3 separate regions of the Homo sapiens genome follow, and all the other regions are linked to region 2. Evidence: promoter capture Hi-C in human tissues and cell types (Jung and others, 2019). All regions are on one chromosome and are shown on one strand. The core of a region is centred on a gene start or on the middle of the fragment in contact, and the rest is flanking DNA. Distances in the headings are between cores, read along the strand shown.

What was found. The method cuts DNA at HindIII sites, captures the fragments that hold promoters and counts their contacts. A contact is called where the count stands out against the background at its distance.
Region 1: a contact is called between the fragment with the promoter of TBATA here and the fragment with the promoter of PALD1 in region 2, in 2 of the 25 tissues and cell types used here (adrenal gland and lymphoblastoid cells).
Region 3: a contact is called between a fragment that was not itself captured here and the fragment with the promoter of PALD1 in region 2, in 1 of the 25 tissues and cell types used here (bladder).

The regions. Positions count from the first base shown.
Region 1 is chr10:70,783,646-70,787,313 of GRCh38, forward strand. It overlaps TBATA (thymus, brain and testes associated), which reads right to left and starts at 1,732. Exons shown (of 11, transcript NM_001318241.2): 1 at 1,640-1,732; 2 at 1,002-1,128. The HindIII fragment of the contact is 18,774 bases long and covers 1-3,668 here.
Region 2 is chr10:70,477,517-70,481,401 of GRCh38, forward strand. It overlaps PALD1 (phosphatase domain containing paladin 1), which reads left to right and starts at 1,251. Exons shown (of 20, transcript NM_014431.3): 1 at 1,251-1,543. RefSeq lists silencers at 867-936, 1,137-1,586 and enhancers at 2,581-3,223, 2,867-3,046, 3,224-3,865. The HindIII fragment of the contact is 10,532 bases long and covers 1-3,480 here.
Region 3 is chr10:70,218,268-70,222,366 of GRCh38, forward strand. PPA1 (inorganic pyrophosphatase 1) reads right to left here. Exons shown (of 11, transcript NM_021129.4): 3 at 497-550. Among named protein-coding and RNA genes, the nearest start is that of PPA1, 13 kb to the right of the region's middle. RefSeq lists enhancers at 3,473-3,973, 3,974-4,099. The HindIII fragment of the contact is 5,424 bases long and covers 138-4,099 here.

The sequences.
Region 1 (3,668 bases), core at 482-2,981, 310 kb after region 2:
AGAATATTCATACAAACACTGTTCAAAATAGCAAAAACCTGGTGGCAACCCAAATGTCTGATGGCAGAAGAATGGATAAATAAGCTGTGGTGCATTCAGACAATGGGATACTTTATTGCTATGAAAATAAATGAGCCACAGCTACATGTAACAACATGGATGAATCTTATAATCAGTATGAGAAAACTTAACAATTCTTGGTTTTGCGATGTTATATTTATGCAATCTTATTAACTCAATTTACTTTTTATTAATTACTATTAAATAGGCTGCAGTAGAACAAGATATATGCATTTGAAACAATACAATTGTTGTCATCCACTATATATAATGTGTGGATAATATAAAATAACTACTAAACAGTATAAATGTTGTTTAAAAACATATTATTTTTCTTTCATAAATGGTTTAGTTTATGTGTGTTCCAGAGGACCACAAGTTCCAGAGGACCACATAGCCTGAGATCCTTTCTAAAAATAAAAGTTTAAAAGCAAGCAAAATGATCATGAACATGCGATAAAACAGCAACAACAGCATCAAACAAGGAAATGCTAAGCACGAAATTCACATAGTGGCTATTTCCGAGGGAAGGCGGGGAGGGGAAGTGTGCAGGAGAAGCGCATATAAGGAGATGTGTTAGTGATGATGTTCTTGTTCTTGGTTTGGGTGGTGTATTTGCTTGTGTTTATTATATTATTAAATAAACTAATTAAATGGCATAGATGAAAGATGATAGGTGTCAAAACCAAGAATTATGATTAAATCTATGGACCTGAATATATATATCTAGCCAAAGTGCTAGGGATGGGGTTGGGACAGGACATCAGTGCATTCTGAGAATTAACCCTCAGAGTCACAGAATCTGCAAGGGACCCCAGAGATCTCCCAATGCCAGCCTTCATCAGGTAGTGGGATGGGTTGGAGTTGTCTGAGATCAGGGAAGCAGGGGAGATTTGCTGAGGTCACACAGAAGGAACCAGAGCCCGGGCAGTCTGACTCACAGTTTGCTGATCTTTTCTTTCCTTAAAAGGAAGCTCCAGACATCCTTGATGTCAGGTACTGGGCTCTAGAGTACTGAGATGCTACAATCTTGAGAACAGGATATGTGGAAGCCCCAAATCCTCCTGCCTATGGGAAAAAGTACTCTTTAGAACAGAGACTTGCAAATGTGTTTGGCTGTGATGACGGTAAGAAATTCTTTATGTCATGATCCAATTCACATATGGGTTTGTGTGTGTGTGTGAAACTAAAACAATAATATCCTGAAGCAATATTTATCCGTACTACATATGATGCACACTGATATTTTTACCCTATTTTTGGTTTTTATTTCTTAAATGTTAGATATGATCCATTTAAATTGATCTAATAAGCCACCAGGGGGTCATAACCCACAGCGGCTGTAGAGAGGCTGACAGGGACTCTAGTAGGCCAAGCCTGCCTTGTCCAGAGCGGGACAGGTGGGACCCCAGTGTAGTCTGCCCTGCCCTGCCCCTGCTCTCTGTCCCTGGGGCCCCAGCCAGCCAGGCAGAGGGGTCTGAGGGCTCCCATCAATCCAGCCACAAAACTTCCCTTTCTACCTCTGCCCTTCTGGGCTGTCCAGGGTCCATCTCCTCTCCCGAGAGGTCCCTGGACTCACCAAGGCAGTGCCCGCTACAGCATGTGTACGAGAAGCCCTGCTGTCCTAGCAGGAAGGAGCAAGAGGACAAATCGAGGGGAAGGCTGTGGGTTCTGTGGGCAAGTCTGCCTGCTTTGTGACACTGAGCCCAGTGGTTGCTAGGTTACCCTGTTCCCACAACTCCAGAACCTCTGCCCAGCACCCCTCTACCACATCCCCTGCCTATCTCCCCCTCCTGGAAGGGTAGACAAGGGCTAAGGACCTTCTGTCCCTCCTGACTTCCCTGCTGCCTCCCATCCAACACTTTCAATGGGGGCCAAGGGAGAGAAGGAGAGTCTGGGGCTGGTTTTAGCCAGAGAGAAGCGGATGGAGGCGGAACGCTGGCAGAGGACGTTGGTGGGCTGCGTCCCAGCTTCGTCAGCCCCACCTGGCCTGACCCCACCACACAGGGGTCGGCTTCCATGCATCTTGGTTCTGGGGACCCATTCTCAGGGAGGTGGGTCTTGGAAGGAGAGAAGATGGCAGCCCGCATTACCCAGAGGGACCCCAGCCCCTCTCTCTGCATGACAGCTGGGTGGGAAGATTCTGGGCTTGCATTTGGACAGGTGTTTTAATCAGATTTCAACATCCCATAGACACGTTACCTTGGGTAAGTCACCGGGACTGCCACAGATGCAAAATAGTGGGAAGAATCCTTGCTTCGAGTCCCTATTCTGCTACTTCCTAGTTGTGTGGCCTCAGACAATGCACCTGCCTTCTCTGAGCCTTAGTTCCCATATCTCTAAAATGGAGATGATGATACTGCACTTATTCTCACAGGATGTTTGAGAATATTAAGTGAGTTGATATATATTAAAGCGTTTCAAACAGTATCTGCCCCCAAGTATAATTTCTTACTATTATTGCCTTCTCTGGGTCTATAAAATGGGATATCCTCACCTACTTCTGTGGTTGTTCTGAAGACAAGCTAATGGAAGTGAAGCCTTTAGTTGTATGTCTGGCACACAAGAGATGCTCAAAAAGGATAATAATCATCATTATTATTGGTAACTTGATGGAGGTAGTAGGATGAGTCCTTTGTCTGAGAACTATCTTAGGTAGTTCACTATTTCTCTGAGGCTCAACTTGGACACCTGTCAAATGGGGGTAAGGATAGTTCTTAGCCGACAGGGCTGTAACTCAATCAGATCCCGGGAGGGGTGCAGACAGGCTCTGTAAACTATGGGAAGGCTTGCAGACAGTGCCGGGTGCTGTCCCTCAGAATGATGAGGTGGGCTTTTCCCAGGGCCTTTGCTCTCAGCACCCCTGGCTTCATACTGGTGCCCTGGGGCTTCCAGACTCTGTGTCTTTTCTCTGGGGAGCAAGAAAAGGAAGGTGGGTAGCTAGAGGCAAACCCAAGTCCTTCAAAAGTTCTGCCCCTCCCAGCTAAGGGGTGGGGATTCATACCACTCTGGTGGCCCCCTGAGGGCTGTCCTCTGGTCTTGGCCTACTCCAAATGCCCACCCATCCTTCGGCAGGTCAGGATGTTCCCTGGCTTTTTCTGGGCCTGTCTCTGCAGGAATACGGTGACTCTTTTGAAATCATACTGAAAACCCCCTCTTCCATACTTCTGGGCATCCTGGCAGCTGTGAAGATAGATGATATAGCATTTGGGAGAAGAGAGGCTTTCTTCCCCGTGACAAGCCACTCCTCCCTCCTGCTTTCAGCACTCTTGTGGCATTTCCCACCACGCGAGCTGACTCAGCTGAGATGAAAACCCACTCTCATCCTCCCCACTGGTGCCTTGTAATGCTTCAACTATGTTATTTACAATCGAGCATGGGGGTCTGCATAGGGACTGCAGCTGGGGGGATGAAGGGGTTCCTCAGGAAATGTCTTCAACACTGGTTTGTAAAAGAAGAACTGAGGAAACTCTTCTGACTCCTTTGTGGAGTGTCAAAAACTGTAGAGAGATCTGTCAGCCTGAGAGTGATTTGAGGTACAGTCCTTGGCCTGGATGACTCAGTCATAACAGAGGCAATAGAAACTTCATGGAACACTTTCTATGTGC
Region 2 (3,885 bases), core at 1-2,500:
TGGAGCTGAGGACAAGTCTTCCCTGGGCCTGTTTCCTCATTTGTTAAAATAGGGATCAGAAAAGTACCGACCTTATAACTTCGCGAGGCACTTAAGAGCTAGGTGCTAGGGACATGGTGAGACCACCACAATGAGTGATTTCTCTTGTCTTCAGTTATTCTTAGGGGTCATGGGGAATGTGTTCCCCTCTCCCAGCCCAGCGCTCTCCAGCCTGACAGAGGTGGGGCCTACACTGCCTGCATCCTGGGGCAACCCCAGCTCGCCGAAATCCAGCTCCAGTCCTGAATGGGGGTGAGGCAGGTGGTAACAGGTGAGAAAAAAGGATTTCCCGAGTGTGGAGCAGCGAGAGGGAGGAAGTGACTCACCAACCACAACAAAGCCTATCTCTCCGCGAGGAAGCACAGCGAAGAGTGAACGCACGCACGTGGGTGCGTTCACCCACGTGCTCGCGGGGGCGTGCGGGGCCGTCGGAGTGGGCCGGGCTGGCTGCCGCCTAGTGCTAGTCCGCGCGTGTGGGGTGAGGAGTGGTGGGGGGGGCAGGCCTATGGTGCGGGTCACTGCCTGGAGCCGCATGATGGGTGGGGGCGGAGGGACCCCTCTCCATCCAAAGCTCTGCTCTGCTGTTCCCCTCTCACCTCTGGGGGCCGAGGGGCGCGTTTCCTTAGGACCCCGGGGCGTGGGAGAAGCCCCTGCTTGGGGGGACCGTCTGCTGTTTAGGGGCTCCCCTTCGACACGTGGGAGGCAAAAGTGCAGAGCGCACCATCATCCAGCTCCGGCCGCACTGCACAGCGAGGCCGGCCCGGAGCCCGGATGCTGGGCTCGGTCCCGCCGAGGCTCGGCCTGGCTGTAAAGCAGAGGGGGGCGAGGGAAGCCGGGCCAGCGGGTGTCGCGGGTAGCCGGCGTCCGGGACGGGGTGTGGCGCCCAGAGCGCTGCTGCCTCTCGCAGCCAGGAGGCTGGATGTCGGGTTTGGGTGTCTTCCAGAAGGAGCCGCACTAGCGACGAGGGAAGAGGAACTGGCTTCCCGGGCAGTCTCCCCCGCCCCAAACTTTTCCTCCTCGCGGAGGGTGGGCGGGCGGAGGGAGGAAGCGCAGCCGGGGAACGTGGCGCCCGCGTTCCTCCCGCCCGGGGGCTGCGGCTGGGCTGAGTGTGTCTTTAAATCTGAGCCCCCCGCCCCTCGCGGTGGGGCCGGGACTCGCGGTCCGGGCGGGGGCGGGCGCGGTGATTGGCGGCCGGGTCGGGTCCGCCCCTCGGCGTTGGGTAGCGGGGCGCTGGGGAGCAGCGCGGCGCGCACGGGCCGGGGCGCGCAGGTCCCGTCGCCGGTGAGCACGGGCTCCCTCTCGCGTGGCCTCGCCGGGTCCGCCTGGCCTGCCCACCTCCGGAGCCACCTCTGCCCCCGCATGGGCTGGCGAAGTTGGGAGGAGCGAGCTGGAGCCAGAGCGCGCGCCGGGCGCGCCCCGTCGCTGCCTGACTCGGCGCCCGCAGTTCGGGCGCAGCACGCCGGCCGCAGGAGCACGGATGCCCCCCGGAGCCGCGGGCTGGCAGGTACCGAAGTGTCCTGCCCTGGGGCTGGCGAGGGGAGGGCAAATCTGGAATCCCCCGGGCACCCCCCAGCCCGAGGCTGCTCCAGACACCAACTCCCCATCCTTTGGAGAGGTGAGGTCCTGGGCCTTCACCCCACACCCGCTCAGGATTGGTCCCTGGGAGGCAAGAGGGACTCACAGGGAGCAGTTGCTGGGTGGTTGTGTGTGTTGGACCCTGGGCTACCCCCTCTCCCGAGTTCCCTGGGTTTGGTGTAGGCATGGCCTGGTGACAATTCCACTTTTCATTGCCAGACCTGGGAGCATGGCCAGGAGCTAGGGTTTCCCGCGAAGTTAGGGGGAGATTGGGGAGAGGGAAGCCGCTTCATGACCGAGATGGGGTCCTGGGACTCATCTCTAGGGGGCGTGAGGCCCTCAGACCCAGGACGAGTCCAGAAGTCTCAGCGGGCACAGGCTTTGATTCTTGGCCCAGTCTGGCCCTCTTCCTCTGTAGGCCCGGGTCTCCAAGGAGAGTACGTTTTTCAGTTTCAGAGGGTTTTCCTGAAGGGGCAGTAACCTGTCAGAGAGAGAGTGGCCTATGGGAGACCCGGCTCCTGAAGGTGGCCGGGATGGTTGGAGCCCTTTCTCTTGGGTTGTCAGAGATGGGAGTAAAGCTTCATGGCCCAGGGAATCTTCTGGGCATCTCTACTCTCCCAGCCAGAGGCCCAGGAACCAACTCCTTGGCTTCTGGGTAGAGTAACCTGAACCCAGTGGCCGAGCACCTCTTAAATGCCAGGAAGGGCACTGGGCCGTGCCCCTGGAATGTGTGGATGGAGGAGGATTTGGAGGATTCTGTCCTCAGGAGGCTCAGCCCCTGGGGGCAAGACAGGACATAAACACACAAAGTTCCCCGATACAGGGTTTCAATACCAGTCCTGAACTGGTAATAGTGGAAAGCCAAGAGGCTACACACCATTAATTGCTATGTGAGTAATGTAGGCTGCGAGAGTGCCAGGGCAGCAGAGATCCAGTTCCATGCAAGCAAGCAAATGTGCTGAAATGTTCCAGCTCCATGCCCGCCCTTCCTTATTACCTTGCTCCAAGGGCAGGGAGCAGCAGGGGCGCTGAGGAGGTTCTCCTGCACTCATCCCCACCCACTCCCAGGTTTGTTTGTTTCCTGCTGGTGGATTTCTGAAATAACCCATTTGGTTTCTTGGCTTGGGCTGAGCACAGGACACTCCTAGTTGCCCTGTGGCTCCTGGGGTTTGGGGTCTAGAGCCAGCCTTGTAGGAGGTTCAGAGGTAAGCAGGAGGAAGTCCTCACTTCCTTTCTGAAGAGCCTCTGTCGCGGGGGGTTGGGGTAGGTCGGGAGGCTGGCAGGCACTGGGCCAGTTTCCTATGAGTGCAGACAGACCCCAGGTGGTGCATGCACCCCCCTCCCTTTCCTGGCCAGTGTTGGGGGTGGGCACAGTAGGGCCCAGGTGGCTTGAGGTGGGTGGTTCCTGGCACAGCTCTGACCTCACTTCTGTGAGGCTCTGCTGTATCTGGGGCCCTGCCCCCTCCCTCATTGTCCCTGGCAGGTTTCTGTTTTTCTGGAGCACTTCGTGGAGGTGGCAGTGTGCTCATGCTCGTGGCCTTGGGTGCAGTTCTGGGAGTGGGAGTTGCTGAGCTCACCCGAAGCCCTTGGCTGGCACTGTGAGAACTTGTGTGAACACACTTGCCTGCCTCCAAACAGGTGGTGCACAGACCTGGGTTACCCAGGCACCTGTGGGGGATGCCCCGTGTGGGCAGAGACGTGAGTGCGTGTGTGTGCTCAGGTTTACATCTGTGTGGGCAGAGACGTAGAGGAGCTGGATACATATATACTTGAGGACAGACACAGGAGGATGGTGGGGGTGAGCAAACAACCCAGGGACACAGACATGTGCGGGGACAGACATACATGAACCCATCAGCGTGGGCCACGTATGGGCTGCAGACACGTACATAGAAATACACCATTGCTGGGATCTGAATCTCCCCACATGGGAGGCAGACATGTAAGTGGACAGACATATAGGTAGACCCAGCAGAGCACAGACGGGGATGGGAACCGACATTCCCAGACAAAAGACTCGGAGCCACAGGGAAGCCGCTCAAGTGCCTGGGCAGAATGGAGTTGGCTGTGAGCTCCTGGGGGGCACAGACACATATGCTTGCCAGAGCCAGCGGACAGCAGAGGCCAGGAACCAGACACAGGTGGGTTCTGAGAGGTAGGCCGAGGCGTGCATTGCCTGGTTATCACTGTTTCCCTGCGTGGCACAGTGCCCGGAAGTTGTCCTGTTTGGGGTGGTGATGGTACAGGTGCTCTGTGGTGGAGCTTATTTCT
Region 3 (4,099 bases), core at 1,600-4,099, 260 kb before region 2:
GTTTTCCTTCACAGAATTTAAAATTATTCAAATACTTGGGTATTTATTACACAAAAAAAGTGATTACTGTTAAGAGTTTGTGATATAAAATATGTTATAAATATCCATAACAAAAAGGCAATGATGGTAGGTATCATCAGAAAGAAACTAACACCATGCAACTGAAATTCCAATGAGAGTATCTGTGGCTGGGGTGACTAAGGAGGGGTCAGTGAAGGGCTTACAGAGAGTAAGAGGAGAAAAAGTAATTCTAGGCTTTGGGAACATTGGAAGCAAAGATGTTGGGAAGAAAAGTTTGGGGCATATTTGTAAACAGTTGAGTTTAGCTGGAGCCCAAAGGGAAGACTAGTAGGCAATGGGAGATACAACTAGAAAATAGACTGGGACCAGACAGAGAAAAACCTTGACGTTCAGATGGTTCATCCTTGATCAAGTCAGTGTGACTAGATCAAAACCAATATCCTAAGTCTGACTCAAATGTAAGGTGAAATATTACCTCCATTTTTGCATTAGACCAGCGTGGTACTTCAACTACCATGTGAAACACATCCTGAAAAAACAAAGAGAAAGTGAGATGGTCACAGGAGCCAATTTGTTCTCTGAGGGAGCATGCACTATTTCTTCCAAAGTCAAACTGTTCATTGTATCAGATCTTTGAAGTCAATTGGATTTTCAACAAAATGCATCAAAAAAAGAGAATGATGGATGAAGAAATAATGCAATTATAGGAAAATATTCATTATAGAATCAAGGTGGTCAGTATATGATTGCTTACGGTATAGTTCTTCTTAATTTTTATTTACTTCTAAATTTTTTATAGAGGCAAGGTCTTACTGTGTTGCCCAGGCTGGTCTCAAACTCCTGGCCTCAAGTGATCCTCCTGCCTCCACCTCCCAAAGTGCTAGGATTACAGGTGTGAGCCATCTTGCCCAGCCAACTTACTATATAAATCTTTTAACTTTTCTGTATGCTTTAAGTGTTTCAGAATAAAAGCTGACAGTGGAAAGAATGTTCCTAGGAAGGAAACAGTTCTTAAATAAACGTAACAGAACCTGTATCTCTGAAGAAGACCATCTTCAAAACACTCTCCAAAGGCCAGTGTTATTTCCTTCAGAGACACTGCAATTACTCAAAATGTTTTTGGAGCTTCTATTTCAGAGACAGTTTATAAGACAAACCCCAAGTCAGACTAATTACTTGATCATACTTTAGTTTATAAGACGAACCCCACATCAGCCTAATTACTTGGTCATACTTTAGTTTTAGCATCAAACAAAACTCATCAGCTTCATTATCCACATTATTCTCCCAATTCGGCTGTTTTTAGAAATAAAGCCCCCCTGAAAAGGACTTTGACCTTGAAGATAAGAGAATATGCTTTAAAAATATTTTAATCAATGATAGTTCTACTGTAATTGGCTTATAGCCTTAAACTGACTACTATAAAATAGATGATATATTCAGGGAGTAAATTCCCAGATGTGCAGTTTAAAAACACAATGAAAAAACAAACCATACTTTGCCAACCCATTTTGCACACTGGAGTTAAATATGCCATAGGTTATTTAATTAAACTTGAGCTTTAATTATTCAGAATACTATTTTTTTTCACGGAATAGAACTTTAACTGCAGTTTTTCAGTTTTTAGCCTCTACAAAGGGCACAGATGAAGCTAAATCTGCAATTACTGTTTTCTGTCACCCAGGCTGGAGTGCAGTGGCACAATCTTGGCTCACTGCAACCTCTGCCTCCTGAGTTCAAGTGATTCTACTGTCTCAGCCTCCTGAGTAGCTGGGATAACACAGGGGCGTGCCACTACACCTGGCTAATTTTTGTATTTTTAGTAGAGATGGAGTTTCGCCATGTTGGCCAGGCTGGTCTCAAACTCCTGACCTCAGGTGATCCACCCGCCTCAGCCTCCCAAAGTGCTGGGATTACAGGTGTAAGCCACCGCACCTGGCCTGCAATTATGCTTATAAAAAGTACTTTTTTTTTTTTTTTTTGAGACAAGGTCTCACTCTGCCACCTAGGCTGGAGTGCAGTGGTATGAGCTTGACTCACTGAAGCCTCAACCACCCTGGCTCAAGCAATCTTCCCATCTCAGCCTCCTGAGTAGCTGGAGCTACAGATGCATGCCACCACATCCAGCTAATTGTGTGTGTGTGTATATGTATATATGTGTGTGTGTGTGCGTGTATGTGCATATATATATAATTTTTATATATATTATATAATTTTATATATATAAATTATATATGTATTATATATAATTTTTATGTATAATATATATATAATTATATATATAATATATATAATTATATATTATATATAATTTATATATATATTATATATAATTTATATATATATAATATATATAATTTATATATATATTATATATAATTTATATATATATAATATATATAATTTATATATATATAATATATATAATTTATATATATAATATATATAATTTATATATATATAATATATATAATTTATATATATATAATATATATAATTTATATATATATAATATATATAATTTTTATATATATTATATATATAATTTTTATATATATTATATATATAATTCTTATATATATAATATATACTTTATATATACTATATATATAATTTATATATAATATATATAATTTTTATATATACTATATATATAATTTATATATAATATATATAATTTTTATATATATACTATATATATAATTTATATATATAACATATATATAATTTATATATATAATATATATATAAATTATATATATATATAATTTATATATATATATATATATTTTTTTTTTTTTTTTTTTGTAGAGATGGAGCTTTGCCATGTTACCCCAGACTGGTAAAGTACATTTTAAGAACTTAACTTAAAATGAAAATCACTTGGTTACACCACTCTTTAGAATTACTTCTTTGCTACTTTCCATCAAAAAACGGGAACTGATAAGCCACAAGGGAATAAGTCAAAGGTTTCAAGTCAATAATTACCTGCTGCTACCAAGCAGAAAAACTACACTGATTTTGATTCAAAAGTGTAGAACTTCTGTCATTTTAAGTTCCTGCTGAAACCATGGGAGACTAAAGCATCCATAGGTTTCTGCTCCAAGCCTCCTGATACCTCACTTACCCAATACAACATAAAAACCAAAAGAATGGAGATATTACTTAAATCTAGGACTGAAGAAACTGCTCTATCCCTGTTTCCCTCTAAAATAACCAGATGGTTTAGAAAATGTAACACTAATTATTAATCCTGGGTAGAAAACCTCAGAACCAATCTTTGACTAAATTTCACCTTGTCCACTAGGTTTTCAAGTATTTTGTCCACTTCTCAGGTGTAAAAACGAGAGATCTGTAGGTCTGTGAAAAGAACAAGTCAGGGCTTTCGGTTTCCAGCAGCAGTACCCTAAAGATTCACAAGATGGAGCTGTTACGACATGAAAGATCAACTGAAGAGCTCGCCAAGATTAGCTGTTAATTTCGTTAAAACACCACCAAATGAATACATTGCTTCAAGAAAGATATAGCAGATAGAGCTAAAATAACTAATTCAAAGTTTAGAAACTATATTGAACACTTTAATAGCAGTAAATGACAAATATGTATAGATCCTCAAAACAGTATTACCTAATAACATAAATCTACATAATTAATGGGAAGGAAAAAAATAACAAGGAAGAAAACATCCTTCAGAAAATGGTAAGAGAATTCTGCTGCGAACAAAAGCTTGAAGGTCTGGTGCTTTTTAGAAATTAGCTGGGTGAGGCCGGGGGGTGGTGGCTCACACCTGTAATCATAGCACTTTGGGAGGCCGAGGTGGGCGGATTATGAGGTCAGGAGATCGAGACCATCCTGGCTAACACAGTGAAAAACCGTGTCTACTAAAAATACAAAAAAATTAGCTGGGCGTGGTGGCAGGTGCCTGTAGTCCCAGCTACTCGGGAGGCTGAGGCAGGAGAATGGCGTGAACCTGGGAGGCGGAGGTTGCAGTGAACTGAGATCACACCACTGCACTCCAGCCTGGGCCACAGAGCAAGACTCCGTCTCAAAAAAAAAAAAAAAAAAAAAAAAGAAATTA